Linked DNA regions of Homo sapiens: regions 2, 3 and 4 are each linked to region 1. The links are contacts of gene promoters, found by promoter capture Hi-C in blood cells and fetal thymus (Javierre and others, 2016). All regions are on one chromosome and are shown on one strand. The core of a region is centred on a gene start or on the middle of the fragment in contact, and the rest is flanking DNA. Distances in the headings are between cores, read along the strand shown. Region 1 holds the start of AAMP (angio associated migratory cell protein). Region 2 holds the start of CHPF (chondroitin polymerizing factor). Region 3 overlaps RPL37A-DT (RPL37A divergent transcript). Region 4 overlaps SMARCAL1 (SNF2 related chromatin remodeling annealing helicase 1).

Region 1 (3,783 bases), core at 536-3,035:
TTTTTGAGATGGAATCTTGCTCTGTCGCCCAGGCCGAAGCGCAGTGGCACAATCTCAGCTCAATGCAACCTCTGCCTCCCAGGTTCAAGTGATTCTCCTTCCTCAGCCTCCGGAGTAGCTGGGATTACAGGCACATGCCACCACACCCAGCTAATTTTTTTTTTATTTTTAGTAGAGATGAGGTTTCACCATGTCGGCCAGGCTGGTCTTGAACTCCCGACCTCAGGTGATCCACCCGCCTTGGCCTTCCAAAGTGCTGTGATTACAGGCATGAGCCACCGCACCTGGCCAATTATCTCTAATTTTATACTCACTACTTTTATTAACTTTTATCAAAGATAACTTTTTTTTTTTTTTTTTTTTTGGAGACAGACTCTCATTCTGTTGCCCAGGCTGGAGTGCAATGGCGCAGTCTTGGTCCACTGCAACCTCCGCCTCCCGGGTTCAAGCAATTCTCCTGCCTCAACCTCCCGAGGAGCTGGGACTACAGGCGCCCGCTACCACGCCCAGCTAATTTTTGTATTTTTAGTAGAGACGGGGTTTCACCATATTGGCCAGGCTGGTCTGGAACTCCCGACCTTGTGATCCGCCTGCCTGGGCCTCCTAAAGTGCTGGGATTACAGGCGTGAGCCACCATGCCCAGCCAAATTTTTGTATTTTTAGTAGAGACTGGGTTTTGCCATGTTGGCCAGGCTGGTCTCGAACTCCTGACCTCAAGTGATCCACCTGCCTCAGCCTCCTAAAGTGCTGGGATTTCAGGAGTGAGCCACCACGCCCGGCCAAAGATAACTTTTTAAAAGAAAACTAAGAGGTTAATCAAGGTTAACTGGCAAAGTAGAGGGTGTCTCGACTGATGCCAGAAGCCAAGCAATCATCCATTCTGCCACACTTTCCCACCTGTGGGCTCCTCCAGCGCAAGGCCAGCATCTTGCCCATCTCTGTGTCCCCCATAACGTTCTGTCCATGGCTGATGTTTAATGCTTACACGCCCACCTAAACTGATTTGAGGTGGATCGCCTCAAAGACCTACCTGAGTGCAATGCAAAGGTGACCTCGCTATCGTCGGGGCCCTCCATGCTGCCGACCACCCCTTCCTGGGGTTCTAGAACCCAGCCCTCTTCGTTGCCCTCTTCCTCCTCTTCTTCCTCAAAGTCCACATCTTCCATCTCCTGGGCCAGGTCATCTGCTTTGGGGAGAGGGTTAGAAGATGGGGCTCGGGAGGCGGTAAGAGGTACGGAGAGAAGCATGAGGAGGCCTGAGGCTGGGGCGGGTCATGTGGCGAGAAGGGAAGGTGGAGTCAGACACACCGGGGTCCGCGGGGGCGCGCGGGACACAGGACGGGAGGCCACGGCTGGCCAGAGACCGTGCGGTAAGGGAGGGCCAAGGGGATGATGGGAAGGGGGTGTGTGAGGGGAAGGGCCAGAGGAGGCGTCAGGGAACCCCCACCCCAGCCAGGCCTGAGAACTAAGTGTGAGGGTGGGAGTGGGGGAGGAGGGGAAGAGGGATATCGGTAGGAATGACCAGTCGGGTGTGGAGGGGAGCGGGGAAAAGCAGGAGTCAGAGGCCAGGGGTGAGCGTCTCCTGTCCCATGGCCTGAGGAGCGGCAGTTCTCACCTGGGTCCGGCGGACCGGGATCAAGTTCTACCACCTCGATAATCTCTTCATCACCATGGAAGCTTAGGGTCTCCAGTGGGGGGGTGTCAGCAGCAGCCCCGCTTTCCGATTCGGACTCCATGCGGCGCAAGCGGCGGATCCACTTCTCTGGGCCCAAACGCCTCCCAGAGTCAGCTCTGCGCGACGACGCGGAACTCGAGCCCCTCCTCCCGGCAGGAAGTAGGCGTAGGCGACTCCCCAGCAGGAAGAGCGACGGCCGTTCGGCCAATAGCTACGAAGGTTGGCTGGCCGCCTCACCAATCACAGAGCGGCATTGGAAGATGGGGCCGGGGCGTGGCGGAGAGAACCCAAACTCCGCCCCACCTGACTCCGCCCCCAACTGGAGGGAAACAAGCGAGCGCGCGCGCCTCCGGGGTCTCCTGGGAAGAGTAGTTCTCCTGGGTCCGCTCTGCGGGCTTCTGGGAGATGTAGTTTCTGGTCTGTAGGCAGGACGGAAGGAGCGGGGGAGGCCCCTTACGCAAACTACAATTCCCGGCGGGGAGCGCGGTGAAGCGGGGGTGGGATCTGAACATGGCGGCGGTGGTAGCTGCTACGGCGCTGAAGGGCCGGGGGGCGAGAAATGCCCGCGTCCTCCGGGGTAAGGAGAGGGACCCCGGGGAGGGCAGGACTGCAGAAGATCCCTTTTCTTTCACGTCCAGCCCGACGATAGCAGGAGGTCAGGGCTCTTGGTTCCTCCCCACACTTTTCTGCAAGATCTTAGAGTCTGGGGGTGCAGAGATGCTCTTTAGAGGTCACCCAGTGCATCCCCCCGCCTTCGGGTTGCTCGACACCTCCGGGGTCTTGCTGCAAGAGGGAGCTCCTAGGAAGCCTGTTGGACTCCCGCGCTCCAGGTGTTTCACACTCACCGCAGTGCAGAGGAAAGAGCCCCGGGCTTCTGGAGGTTTGAGTTCCAGCCCCGGATAATTAGCAGTTTGACCTTGGGCAAAGCAGTTTTTCTCTCAGGGCTTCAGTTTCCTCTTCCGTACAGTGCAAGGGATGGAGTAGACTATCTTTAAGGTCCCTTCCAGTGCTAACATTTGCAGTTTCAAAACCTTTTCCCGGATTTCCTTCATACGTCTTATGTGAGTCCCACTGCAGTCCTTCCCATGCTGTCGTCTGAGGAAGAACAGCGAAGCTTTTCGTCCTGGCACCAGGGTGATGAGCCCGCAGTGACGTGGAAGTGGCTTCCAAAGGTGCCACCTCGGTGGCGATTTTCCCATTTCCCTTTGGATTCTCCTTGGCACTTCTTACTTCAGACTGCAGTCACTCCCCTTCCCCAGATCTCAGCCGCTCCTCCCAAGCCCTTACTGCCCCCCACCTCCCCGCTTGCTTTCTTCTCATCTCTTCTTACTGACCTTCCTTACCTCCATCCACAGGGATTCTCGCAGGAGCCACAGCTAACAAGGCTTCTCATAACAGGACCCGGGCCCTGCAAAGCCACAGCTCCCCAGAGGGCAAGGAGGAACCTGAACCCCTATCCCCGGAGCTGGAATACATTCCCAGAAAGAGGGGCAAGAACCCCATGAAAGCTGTGGGACTGGCCTGGTGAGTTTTAACCACCCCTTTGCCCACCAACGGGGCGTGGCTTGTAGGGGAGGGCAGGACTTAGAAACTTCTCCAAGTTTCAGGTGGCGAGCTGAATCCAAAGTTGTGGGAACAGAATTGTTGGGTTCGATTGGAATCTCAGAGGGGTGGGGCAGTGGAGGTGGGAAAGTATGTGGAATTGAGAAGACAGTGGGTTTACTGTGGAGTAAGCTGAGTTGATCTGATTCAGACTTGGGTCCCTGGCCTCATCCTCCCTTTTGGGAGCTTGGAGTGAGACCCAAGTTTAAGTAAGTAGTTCGTTGAGATCATGTGAGCTTGTACTAGTTGTATAGTAGTACTCAGAAGGCGTTATGAACATTGTGATTGGGCTCTGACTCTGACCTTAATACATATTATTGACCAATATTAAAGAGAAAGGAGGAAGAAATCAACATTTTTTTCTGCATGTGAGGTGTGCCAGTACTTTGCCATGTAATGTTTTAGTGTTTGAGATAAGTATTACATCCCCATTTCACAGAGGAAGGAACTGAGACTGAGCTAGGATTCTCACCTAGTCTGTGACTCCATGCTCTTTCCCCCATACCA
Region 2 (3,736 bases), core at 1,077-3,576, 1.3 Mb after region 1:
GGGGGTCACAGAGATAGAAAATAAATGTCCGAATTGGCATGGAAAAGCAGACCTGTATCTCCAACATCCCTTTGCCTCTCAGAGGGATTTGAACATGACAAGGAGGTATCAGTGGGATAGCTTATCATCCCACCTCGTGGTCACCAGTGCAGCCCACCCCGGTGGCATCGAGAATGCAGCGACCCAGCCACTCGTCAGGGCGCGCACTGACGATGTCGTTGCGGCAGCCTTCCAGGTGGGGGCGCAGTTGTTGCAGCAGCATGCGCGACAGCAGCACCCCAAAGCCTCCGTGGCAGTAGCGGCCGGGGGTGGGCTCTCCGCCGATGAAGTCCTGGGGCCGGCCCAGGTACAGGTGGGCGGCGGAGGCCAGGCTGAGGTGGCCAGTTAGGCGTGCCAGGCCGTGCGCCTCGGTGTAGGTGGTGTCAGGCACCAGGAAGAACCAGTCAAAGTCGTCGCCGTGCTGCTCCAGCAGGTGGCGCAGCGCCAGGTGCAGGTGTCCAATGGGTCGCTCCTCGCCTAGCGTCACCACTGCCATGCCAGGTGGGGCCCGGCGGCCCCGTGCGCCCGTCAGGAACACCACACGCTCCAGCCGGTGCCCCAGCGTGCGGTTCACGGCCACGCCCAGCGTGGGCAGCGTGGTCTGAGAGGTCAGCACCGCCACCAGCAGCCTCTGCCTGATGCCCAGCTCCGTGCTGATGTAGCGGGTCCTAGGGGAGGAGATGGCACAAGCTTATCAAAAGGACAACGGGGCGGGGGGTGGGGGGGAGGTGGTCAGCACAGACCCTGGCAGGTCACGTCTTCTCTGTATCTGTTCTCTCACCTATGAATAGGTTAAAAATAAACCCTCTCTCCCAGGGGTCATGAGGATTTAAACGAAATGGTCTTAAACAGGTAGTGCTTTGCATTTGGGAGATGGCAATACCCACCCAGATAGGAGAGAGATATTGTGGGTCTGACTCCGGGGTTCGCTACTTAGTAGTTATGTCCTTGAGCATGTTATTTAACCTGAGCCATCTGTAAAATGGGACTGATTATATCTGTTTAAAGCACCCAGCCAAACGCTGGACACACCATGTATCTACTCATTTCTATATAAATATGCCATTATGCCACAAATGCCTCACATAAATGACATAAAGGAACGTTTGGCATAGGGGTGTACTGAGTGTTTTTGCGGGGAGGGGCAAACTGCACTCAGGGGCTCTAGGAACTTACCTTTTGGTAAGGCAGAAGGTAAATTGCAGAACCAGCATTTGAACCCAATGTTACTTAGAAGTTATTTCAACTCATCAGCAGAGACATTAATGAGATAGGTACATTCCTCCCTCCCCCATCTCACCCTGAGGTGGCCCTTGTAACCCACTCAGGAACAAGAGATCCAGGTAAATCCTAGTTCTCTCCTTTCTCTTCCCCTGTCTCTATACACTCACCCTATATATAAGTCATTTCTCTAACACCAGCAGCCCAGCCAGGGAGCTAGTAGGATCTCTGGGGCGCCATCGGGTCGAGCCGGTTTAGGACACAGTCCAGTAAGTTCAGCCCAGGCCGGGATAGGGCCCAGAGAAAGTCTCGGACTGGCCCCACGGCTCTCGGGAAGGCAGGGCCATCGGAAGTTATCGGGGCCCAAAGACTTCCTGGCTCGCCAGCCCCTTCCTTCCGGAGCCTGACCCGGGCCCGGGCGACCTCCCCGCGCGCTTCCCGGCCGCTGCCCAGGGGGTAGAGCGGGCGCAGCCGATCACTACCTGACGGCCTTTTTGGCGGCCTGGCCGGGCTGTGCAGGGTGGTAGGGCAAGACGCGCGGCTCCCAATTCTCCCCGGCGCCTTCGCCGGCCCCGGGCTTCTCGCGCTCCGCTCCGGGCTGCACCGAGTTGGGCCGGCGCGCCGCGTTGGTGTTGCCGCGCGGCGGCAGCTCAGAGTCTCCAGGTTGGGGCGGGCCTGGGCCGCACGGCTCCTCCACCCAGGTGACGCTGAGCAGGCTCAGGGTGAAGCCCAGGGAGATGCCCACGGCCACGGGCCCTGCGGGCCGCAGCACCGACAGCAGCAGCGATGCCCGCATGGCGCCCGGACCGCGGGTCCCCGGCCCCGGCGAACCCCCAGAGCAGCCAGAGGAGTCTCCGAGGGGGCGGGACCGGGGAGGGGGCGGATCCGGAGGGCTCGGGCCCCGCGGGCGGGCCCGCTCCCTCCCCGCAGAGCAGAGCCAGCGGCCCGAGCCGAATCCCCGGAGCCGCGCCTCGATTCCCCTCCAGCAGCTGCTCTGGGCTGCGCAGGGTTCTTGCGCTCGGCACTGGAGCCTCAGCCGCGGCCGCAGCTGTCCGACGTGTCACTGCAAGGGCCCCGCCCCCGGGGTGGGGTCTCGGGCTCTCGCTACCGGAGAGGGAGGAGAAGGGGGAGGTTAAAGGGGAAGGACCCCCGGAAGTGCCCCCTCCTCAGTGCGGGAGAGGGAGACGCCGGGGGCGGAGTCCCCTGCCTCCCGCGGCGTGGTTGGTGCGTCCCATGTGACGTCAGAAGCAGCCCGCCCCTGCCTGGATGGTGCGCCCTGAGTGACGTCAGGAGCAGAGGCCGGAGCTGTCCATCAGCACCAAAGGCCGCGGGCGGGCTCAGGGCATGGGGCCGCGGTTCTGGGGCGGCCCGAGCCCCGGCTCCTGCGCCTTCCCCTTCCTCAGGCCCAGCCCGAGTTCCCGGACGCCGCGGGACTGGAGTGCCAGCCGGTGTTGGACGTGGAGCGGCGCCGCCACCGCGCCGACACCATTCTCTCCGGCCCAGCAGCCCCCTTCCTCGCACGACGGACTTTCCCTGGACCCCAGTCAGTTGGAGCCTCTGGCGCCCCGCAACCCCGGCCCCTCGGGCCTCTGCACAGCCTCTTTCACTCAGAAGCTCAGGTCGCCTCCAGCCCAGGTAAATCTTGGACAATCCCATATTGAGCCGCCCACAGATGAATCTCTTGGCTGCCTCCTTCTCACTGGCAGCACGCTCCCTTCATCCCCCCGACTCCCGTCCCTCTTTTAACTTCATCCCAGCCTCCACTAGCCAGGCACTTTTGTTTCCCTTTGTCTTTGCTCCCCACTCCAGAGATGCTTCCGGAGCTGCACAAATGTGGATACTATTCCTTTGTCCACTGTCCTTGCTGAGTTCTCCCAATCCCTCTCCCACCCCCATCCTGGTGGGGACCCAGGACTCCTCCGTGACCCCAACTTTCCCTCTGTCAGGTTAACTTGGGAGGGTGACTCCCTTCTATTCCCAGCACTATGCCGGGGACTGTGGCAACACTGCGGTTCCAGCTGCTGCCCCCTGAGCCAGATGATGCCTTCTGGGGTGCACCTTGTGAACAGCCCCTGGAGCGCAGGTACCAGGCACTGCCGGCCCTCGTCTGCATCATGTGCTGTTTGTTTGGAGTCGTCTACTGCTTCTTCGGTGAGATCCCCATCTCATCCCTCACCTGGGCTCCCCAGTGTTTCCCCGAGTTCTTTTTCTGGGCCCCCAAGTCTTCTCTGAATCCCTCTACCATCATGAATAATTCTTCCTTTTCTTTCATCCCACACATTTATAGATTGTCTAGACTCTAGATTATAGGAAAAACAGGTTTTTGGATTAGGCACACCTGAGTGTGAATTTACTTAGCTTTGCAGTTACTAATTGTGATGTCTTGGGCACATTAATCTGTCTGAGCCTCAGTTTTCTCATCTGAACAATGATCACAATATTTGTCTCATGTAGTGTTGTAAGAATTAGTAAGCAT
Region 3 (3,786 bases), core at 424-2,923, 1.8 Mb before region 1:
AGCTAAAGAAATTAAGGAGAAAAGAGATGGGCATATTTTTAAGGGAAAGAAGAAGGCAGATCTTCTGTACTTCCTTGAGTATGGCAGAAGAGGAGAGAGGATTGAAAAGGCAGAAAGAGATGTTGAAATCAGGTAGCAGCAGCAGCAGCAGCAGCATCTCAACAAACATACTGGCCACTATTTTAAAATGTTCACTAGACACTTCATGGAAGTTATTTTATCTTCCTGAGACCCTTTATTGTACAGTATACTCATTTTGCAGCTGCGGAAAGAGACTTAGAGACTTGAATCATGTGATACAGTGGAGCGAACACACGTTTATGTGTCACTTAATGGCTATGTGACCTTGGGCAAGTCATTTGACCCCCCGGGCCTCAGTTTCCAGTTTGGGCTACATTATCTCTAAAGCCTTTTTCAGTTCTGACATAACTGGACTGACTTTACAAAGCAGAGAAACCCAAACACATGAAACGCTTCATATACCCATCACCATTATACCATGCAAGGTAACAATCCCCCATTCAACAGACATTACTGCTGACACGTCAGGCTCTTGTATAGGTCCTGGGATGCAGAGGTGAACAACACAAGCCCTGTCCTCATGGAATTGACTTGTGGTGACCTCCTTGGGTGGTGGTGGTGGTTGTTTTAAAATAGACTTTATTTTGTAGAACAGTTTTATAGTTATATAAAAAAATTGAGGAGAGAGTATTTTTGTATACCCTTACCCAATTTTCTCTATTGTTAACTTTTTTTTTTTTTTTTTTTTTTTTGAGATGAAGTCTTGCTCTGTCGCCCAGGCTGGAGTGCAGTGGCACGATCTCAACTCACTCCACCTCCACCTCCCAGGTTCAAGCAATTCTCCTGCCTCAGCCTCCCGAGTAGCTGGGATTATAGGCATGTGCCACCATGCCTGGCTAATTTTTTGTATTTTTAGTAGAGATAGGGTTTCACTGTGTTAGCCAGGATGGTCTCAATCTCCTGACCTCGAGATCTGCCTGCCTCAGCTTCTCAAAGTGCTGGGATTACAGGCGTGACCCACCGCGCCCGGCAACATCTTAACATTAGTATGGTAAATTGGTTACAATTCATAAAGCAAGATTAATACATTATTATGACCTAAAGTCTGTAGTTTATTCGGATCTTCCTAGTTTTTAACGTATTGTCTTTTTTTTGTTCTAAGATTTCATGTTACATTTAGTCATCATGTCACCTTACGCTCCTCTTGGCTGTGACAGTTACTCAGGCTTTCCTGGTTTGACAGTTTTAAGGAGCCCTGGTCAGGTATATTGAAGGATGTCCCTCTTTTGGAATTTGTCTATTGTTCTCATGATTAGACTGAGGTTATGGGTTTTGGGAGAAAGATCACAGAGGCAAAGTGCCATTTTCATTCCACATCAAGGGGACATAGTAACAAGATTATCACTGTTGATGTTGACCTTCATCACCTTGGCTGAGGTCGTGTTGGCTATAAAGTTACTCTTTTTTCCCCTTTCTATACTGTGCTCTTTGGAAGGAAGTCATTCTGTGCAGCCCACACTTAGGGAGTGGGGAGTTATGCTCACCCTCCTTGAGAGCAGAATATCCACATAAATTATTTGAAATTCTTCTTGGCCGGGTGCAGTGGCTCACACCTGTAATCCCAGCACTTTGGGAGGTCGAGGAGGGTGGATCACGAGGTCAGGAGTTCAAGACCAGCCTGGCCGTTATGGTGAAGCCCCGTCTCTACTAAAAATACAAAAATTAGCTGGGTGTGGTGGTGCATGCCTGTAGTCCCAGCTGCTCAGCAGGCTGAGGCAGGAGACTTGCTTGAACCCAGGAGGCAGAGGTTGCAGTGCGCCCAGATCATACCACTGCACTCCAGCCTGGGCGACAGAGCAAGACTCGGTCTCAAAAAAAGAAAAAATAAATTCTTCTGCAAAAGAGAGTTGCCTCTTGTCTTTCATTTATTTAGTCTATCATTTATTTATATCCACATGGACCCATGGATATTTATTTTACACTTGGGTTAAATCAATACTACCTTATTTATTGCTCAAAATTTTCTAGCTTTGGCCATTCGGAGTTCTTTCAGTTGACTCCTGTGTCTCTCTGACATATCCCCATCAGTGTAGGGTTTTCTGAACATTTCCTTACTTTCTGGCACAAGATACTGCAGGCTCGCCTTGTATATTTCCTGCTGCAGTCCTAGAATGAGTCACTTCTCTAAGGGGCCCTGGTTCCTTTTATTAAAGAATGATATTATAAACCAAGATCTGGGGTCTGGGCATGGTGGCTCATGCCTGAAATGCCAGCACTCTGGAAGACTGAGGCTGGAGGATTGCTTGAACCCAGGAGTTCCAGACCAGCCTGGGCAACATGGCAAGACTGTCTCTACAAAAATAAAAAAATTATTTGGGCACTACTCAGGAGACTGTGGTGAAAGGACTGCTTGAGCCTGGGGAGGTCAAGGCTATAGTGAGCTGTGATCACACCACTGCACACCAGCCTGGGGAACAGAGCAAGACCCTGTCTCAAAACAAAACAAAACAAATAAAAACAAACCCTGAGATCTGGGGCAGTAGGTATACTCGTCGTTACTGGAGATGTTTGGGGTTTTTTTTTTAATGGTAGTTTTTTTAGATTATAAAAGAAACACATGCTCATTATAAAAGATAATTAGAAAATGCAAAAAATGTATGCAAAAATCAATTTGACTATTCCCACTATCCACTACTTTTTGCTTTTTCTCCTCCTTGAATTTACACAGCCAGAGCTGGAATAACAGATTGGGGAGGATAAAGAGACAACTACCTTTATTCCACAAAATTGTGCAAGATGTGCTGACATAAAGCACATGGTGGGTCACTGCCCCAGTGGCACTCAAAGTCTGGAAGCTCTTCCTGGAATCATAGGAGGGAAGAACTGGACAGGACCTTGAAGACCACCTGGTCCAGCTCCTTGTAAATAAAGATGGTGGCTGCTGGGAGGTGGGGAGGTGGTTCTCCATGTGGGGACTGTGGCTTACCTAAAGTCAAACCACAAGGTAGTTACAGATCCTGGCCCAGACTGAGTGCCAGGGACCTGATTTTAATTCAACTATGTTTTCTGATGTGCTTTTTCAGTGCACTAAATATTATGATTTGGCGTAGTACAAGCTAGCAATTAGGAGAACTAACTTTGGGATCAGACAGACCAGATTTGAGTTCTAATTGCTGTGTGACATTGAGCAAGTTTCTTAACTTCCCTGAGATGAGTTTCTTTTTTCTTTCTTTTTTTGTTTTTGTTTTGAGAAAGGATCTCACTCTGTTGTCCAGGTTGGAGTGAAATGGTGTGATCATAGCTCACTGTAACCTCTGAACTCCTGGGCTCAAGCAATCCTCACGTTTCAGCCTTTTGAGCAGCTAGAACCACAGATGTGTGTCACCATACCTGGCCTATTATTTTTTTGTGTGTGTGGAGATGGGGTCTCGCTATATTGTCCAGGCTGCCTAGAACTCCTGGTCTCAAAGAATCTTTTCCAAGAGAGACTCTGTCTCAAAAAAAAAAAAAAAAAAAAAAAAAAAAGAAAAAGAAAAAAGAAAGAAAAGTATATAATAACTTGTCAGAGGTCCCACAGCTGGTAAATAGCAGAGTTCTGTTTTGAACCCATACTGAATCCAGAGCCTCTAAGTTCCTAATCATTACATGAGACTTCCTCTCTTTTTCTTAGTAATGAAGATAATAATCATTCCTATCATAAAGGATAATGGAAAATTAAATGAGAACATCCACATAAAATACTCAGTGCCTACCATGTGTTACCCT
Region 4 (3,955 bases), core at 1,034-3,533, 1.9 Mb before region 1:
CTGGGCCATGTGAGTTATCAGAAGAGTTACTCACCATTTTGGCAGTGCTTCGAACCATTGAGTTACCATGTGAGTTACCATGTGAGAAGGAGAGAAATATTGCCTCTGAAATGCCTTTTTAGCTTTGGATTTGCTTTTTGCTTTTTTTTTTTTCTTTGAGAGTTTTGTTCTTGTTGCCCAGGCTGGAGTGCGGTGGCACGATCTTGGCTTACTGCAACCTCTGCCTCCCAGGTTCAAGCAATTCTCCTGCCTCAGCCTCCCAAGTAGCTGGGATTACAGGCGTGCACCACCACGCCTGGCTAATTTTGTATTTTTAGTAGAGATGGGGTTTCACCATGTTGGCCAGGCTGGTCTCAAACTCCTGACCTCAAGTGATCCACCTGCCTCAGCTTCCCAAAGTGCTGGGATTACACCCGACCTGCTTTTTGCTTTTTGATCAGGGTCTTTATTTCAGCATATGCTGCCTACTATTTCAGTGTGTGTGCAATTATAAAAGAAACTTTAATACATCCTTTAGTTGTGCTCATTATGCATTTTCTGGGACAAAAGCTTGTTAAAATCATGGTTGGAGTATGACAATTAATACATGTAATGTTCATTTCATTCTTCTTACTTTCTTCCACAGCTTTTGCCAACTTTCCAATTAAAGGTTGACATTCCTGCATAAGCATTTCTCTGTGAAAATGTCCTTGCCTCTTACAGAGGAGCAGAGGAAAAAGATTGAAGAGAATCGACAAAAGGCTCTGGCCCGCAGAGCTGAGAAGTTATTGGCAGAACAGCATCAGAGGACTAGCTCGGGCACCTCCATTGCTGGCAACCCATTCCAGGCCAAGCAAGGCCCATCCCAAAATTTCCCAAGGGAGTCTTGTAAGCCAGTGAGCCATGGTGTCATTTTCAAGCAACAGAATCTCAGTAGCTCATCTAATGCTGACCAAAGACCTCATGATTCCCACAGTTTTCAGGCAAAGGGAATATGGAAAAAGCCAGAAGAAATGCCCACAGCCTGCCCAGGCCACAGTCCACGTAGTCAAATGGCTCTCACTGGAATCTCTCCTCCCTTGGCACAAAGTCCTCCAGAGGTCCCTAAACAACAGCTCTTGAGTTATGAGTTAGGTCAAGGTCATGCTCAGGCTTCACCTGAGATCAGGTTCACACCCTTTGCTAACCCAACTCATAAGCCTCTGGCCAAACCAAAGAGTTCCCAAGAGACACCAGCTCATTCCTCTGGACAGCCTCCCAGGGATGCTAAGTTAGAGGCCAAGACAGCAAAAGCCTCCCCTTCGGGGCAGAACATTTCTTACATCCATTCTAGCTCAGAGAGTGTAACGCCCAGGACAGAAGGAAGACTCCAGCAGAAGTCAGGGTCCTCAGTCCAAAAAGGAGTGAACTCTCAGAAGGGAAAGTGCGTAAGGAACGGCGATCGTTTCCAGGTGTTGATTGGGTACAATGCGGAACTCATTGCAGTGTTTAAGACCCTGCCCAGCAAGAATTATGGTAATGTCTTCATTTTTCAGCTGTTTTTTTTTTTTTTTCTTATTTTTGGAGTCTCTTTTAATCTAACAGTTTCTCATAAATATTAAGAGAGTGCATTGGCACATGCTGTCCATCCAGTTGTTAAAAATTTTTCAATTTTAGCTTGTTTCCCTTCATAATAGTCATTCCCTTAAACAGCTGCCAAACTTGATGGTTGTCACGTGGCCATCTGGAGAACAGTTGAATGTTACTGAGAAGACGCTTCCTCTGCCAGGTGCTTTATATGCATTGTAGCACTTAAGCTGAACAGCAGTTTTTTTGAAATAAGTAGATGTTATTTTAGTTTTTAAGGTGATGGAACTGGCCCAGCAAGATTAAGTGACAGGCCCAGTTTCATTGGTCTGGAAAGGCAGCGTCAGGATGTGACTAGCTCAATTACAGGCCAGAGCCATTACTCCTCATACTGCTTTGCCTGACCACACTACGACCTGGAGAACTTGGATTCTAGTCCTAACTCTGCCCTCAGTCCTCTTAGGTGAAGTTCATAACTTCCCAGGGCCTGAGTTGGATTCCACTACATGGAATAAAAGAATTATCTATATTTACTATTTGTCCTCTACAGAGATTTTTATAGATCAGTGGGGGCTTGCTGGTCAGCTGTTTTGAACTTGGCGTCCTTCATTCATTCATTTAGAAGACAAGCTTGTGTTGAGTGCCTAAGTACAAATTGTCAACAGTCATCAGTCCTCTGTTTTGTTTCAGATCCTGACACCAAGACGTGGAACTTCAGCATGAATGACTATAGTGCCCTGAGTAAGTAGACACATGGTTGTCTCATGGAGGGTGGCACTGGTGCTGAAAATCTTTAGAGTATCACATGTAGTCCAGCTTATGGAGTGCATGGCTTTACAGGTGGTGAAAGCTTTCAGGGCACCCCCCCCAACACTCCTTCCCACTCTGTCTAGCCTAATGAGGCAGCTCTGTGGGTGAAGGCCGTTAGTAGTATTAACAAAAGCTAGCATTAAATGATGCTTGCTTTGCATTAGGCTATTCTAAGCCCCTTATGCTAACTTTTATTCCTTATAATGACTTTTTTACAGATGGGGAAACTGAGGCCCAGGGACGATGAGTCAGTAACACAGGGTCACATAGCCAATAAGTTGTACAACTGGGATTCAAACCCTGACAGTCTGACTTCAGACTACACGTTCCCACCAGACTATGCTGGCCCCAGCAGTGACAGGCAGCTCAGGCAGCCTGCCAGCCCCTGCTCCCAGGAAGGTAACAGTTCAGCAAACAGCACAGATCCTCAGAGTACTCTCTGTGCAGCTAACTACTCAAAAATGCAAGGAGGGGGCATTGGCCAGGCAAGTTCCAGCTAATGCAGTGTCTGGTCATAGTCAGCACCTGGTTACGTCCCTCTGTCTTCTGAGAAAACTGTCATACACTAAAGTTTTTGTCACTTGATCCTGGTACATGGAGCTTGCACACCTGTGTCAAAGCGTCAGCCCTGTGTGTTTTCATCTTCCATTTATTTTACTCTTCTCCCCCAGCTGCCATTTCTACACCGTCTCTTCCTCCCCCTAGCTTAAGAAAGGAAAAGATAAGGATGTATGCTTAGGTCACTTTGCAGATTTGGGGTATGAGGTAGGATTATCTGGAGGCACCAGTACAGTTTCTGGGAAAGGTGGTTTGGGCCAGTGATGGGACAGCTCCCTGCAGAATTTCCTGGTTTTCTCCTTGGCCTCCAATTCTTGAAATGTGTACATTAGGCGATATCTTTCTTTGGTAGCTGCTAGTGTTGTTAGTTTGCGAGGGCTGCCGTGACAAAGTACCACTGACTGGGTGGCTTAAACAATACAAATTTATTTTTTACAGTCCTGGAGGCTGGAAGCCTGAGATTGGTAGGGTTGGTTTCTTCAGAGGCCTCTCTCCATGCCCTGCAGGTGGCTGTCTTCTCTCTGTGTCCTTGTTTGGATTTTCCTTTGTGTGTGCAAATCCCTAGGGTCTCTCCCTTTTCTTAGAAGAACACCAGTCATTGGATTATCGCCCACCTTGGTGACCTCATTTAACTTATTAACCTCTTTAAAGGCCCTATCTCCATATACAATCACATTCTGAGGTCCTGGGCTGTGTGTTTAACATGAATTTTGGAGGGACACAATTCAACCCATAACGCTGCTGCTGCTAGCTCCGTCTAGTGAGGGCTCATTTTTTAATCGATTTATTTGGTGTTGGAACGGGGAGACCCAAGGCTCTGGATAAAGATTGCAGATTTTGACACCTGGTATTCTCATTGCTGGTGATCTTAAACCAGTGGTTTCCCCTGTTGCGGTTGTTTTGTCTTTTTACTCTTGTTCTGACCACGGTGCATGGTGACTTAGATGACTTCTGCTTTTGCAGATTCATTTAGGTTTTTTGTGTGATATCGTTACTTTTTTTTTGAGACAGAGTCTCACTCTGTCGCCCAGGCTGGAGTGCA

What was found. The method cuts DNA at HindIII sites, captures the fragments that hold promoters and counts their contacts. A CHiCAGO score of 5 or more calls a contact.
Region 2: a contact is called between the fragment with the promoter of CHPF here and the fragment with the promoter of AAMP in region 1, in 2 of 17 cell types (naive CD8 T cells and naive CD4 T cells). The highest score is 6.4, in naive CD8 T cells.
Region 3: a contact is called between a fragment that was not itself captured here and the fragment with the promoter of AAMP in region 1, in 2 of 17 cell types (fetal thymus and total B cells). The highest score is 7.7, in fetal thymus.
Region 4: a contact is called between a fragment that was not itself captured here and the fragment with the promoter of AAMP in region 1, in 2 of 17 cell types (fetal thymus and non-activated CD4 T cells). The highest score is 8.8, in fetal thymus.

What each region holds. Positions count from the first base shown.
Region 1 is chr2:218,268,352-218,272,134 of GRCh38, forward strand. It overlaps AAMP (angio associated migratory cell protein), which reads right to left and starts at 1,786. Exons shown (of 11, transcript NM_001087.5): 1 at 1,615-1,786; 2 at 1,031-1,183. The coding sequence starts at 1,735. It overlaps PNKD (PNKD metallo-beta-lactamase domain containing), which reads left to right and starts at 2,168. Exons shown (of 10, transcript NM_015488.5): 1 at 2,168-2,251; 2 at 3,030-3,198. The coding sequence starts at 2,185. RefSeq lists enhancers at 79-964, 1,533-1,852, 2,003-2,382, 2,413-2,462. The HindIII fragment of the contact is 1,112 bases long and covers 1,675-2,786 here.
Region 2 is chr2:219,541,483-219,545,218 of GRCh38, forward strand. CHPF (chondroitin polymerizing factor) reads right to left here and starts at 2,327. Exons shown (of 4, transcript NM_024536.6): 1 at 1,743-2,327; 2 at 134-707. The coding sequence starts at 2,056. TMEM198 (transmembrane protein 198) reads left to right here and starts at 2,546. Exons shown (of 5, transcript NM_001005209.3): 1 at 2,546-2,895; 2 at 3,207-3,411. The coding sequence starts at 3,246. RefSeq lists silencers at 1,759-1,848, 1,859-2,568, 2,609-2,748. The HindIII fragment of the contact is 11,388 bases long and covers 728-3,736 here.
Region 3 is chr2:216,493,626-216,497,411 of GRCh38, forward strand. The region is part of intron 1 of RPL37A-DT (RPL37A divergent transcript); the gene reads right to left. Among named protein-coding and RNA genes, the nearest start is that of RPL37A-DT, 3.2 kb to the right of the region's middle. RefSeq lists a silencer at 2,464-2,533. The HindIII fragment of the contact is 4,737 bases long and covers 1-3,786 here.
Region 4 is chr2:216,414,022-216,417,976 of GRCh38, forward strand. It overlaps SMARCAL1 (SNF2 related chromatin remodeling annealing helicase 1), which reads left to right. Exons shown (of 18, transcript NM_014140.4): 3 at 626-1,494; 4 at 2,236-2,286. The coding sequence starts at 684. Among named protein-coding and RNA genes, the nearest start is that of SMARCAL1-AS1, 3.5 kb to the left of the region's middle. RefSeq lists an enhancer at 3,733-3,792. The HindIII fragment of the contact is 220 bases long and covers 2,174-2,393 here.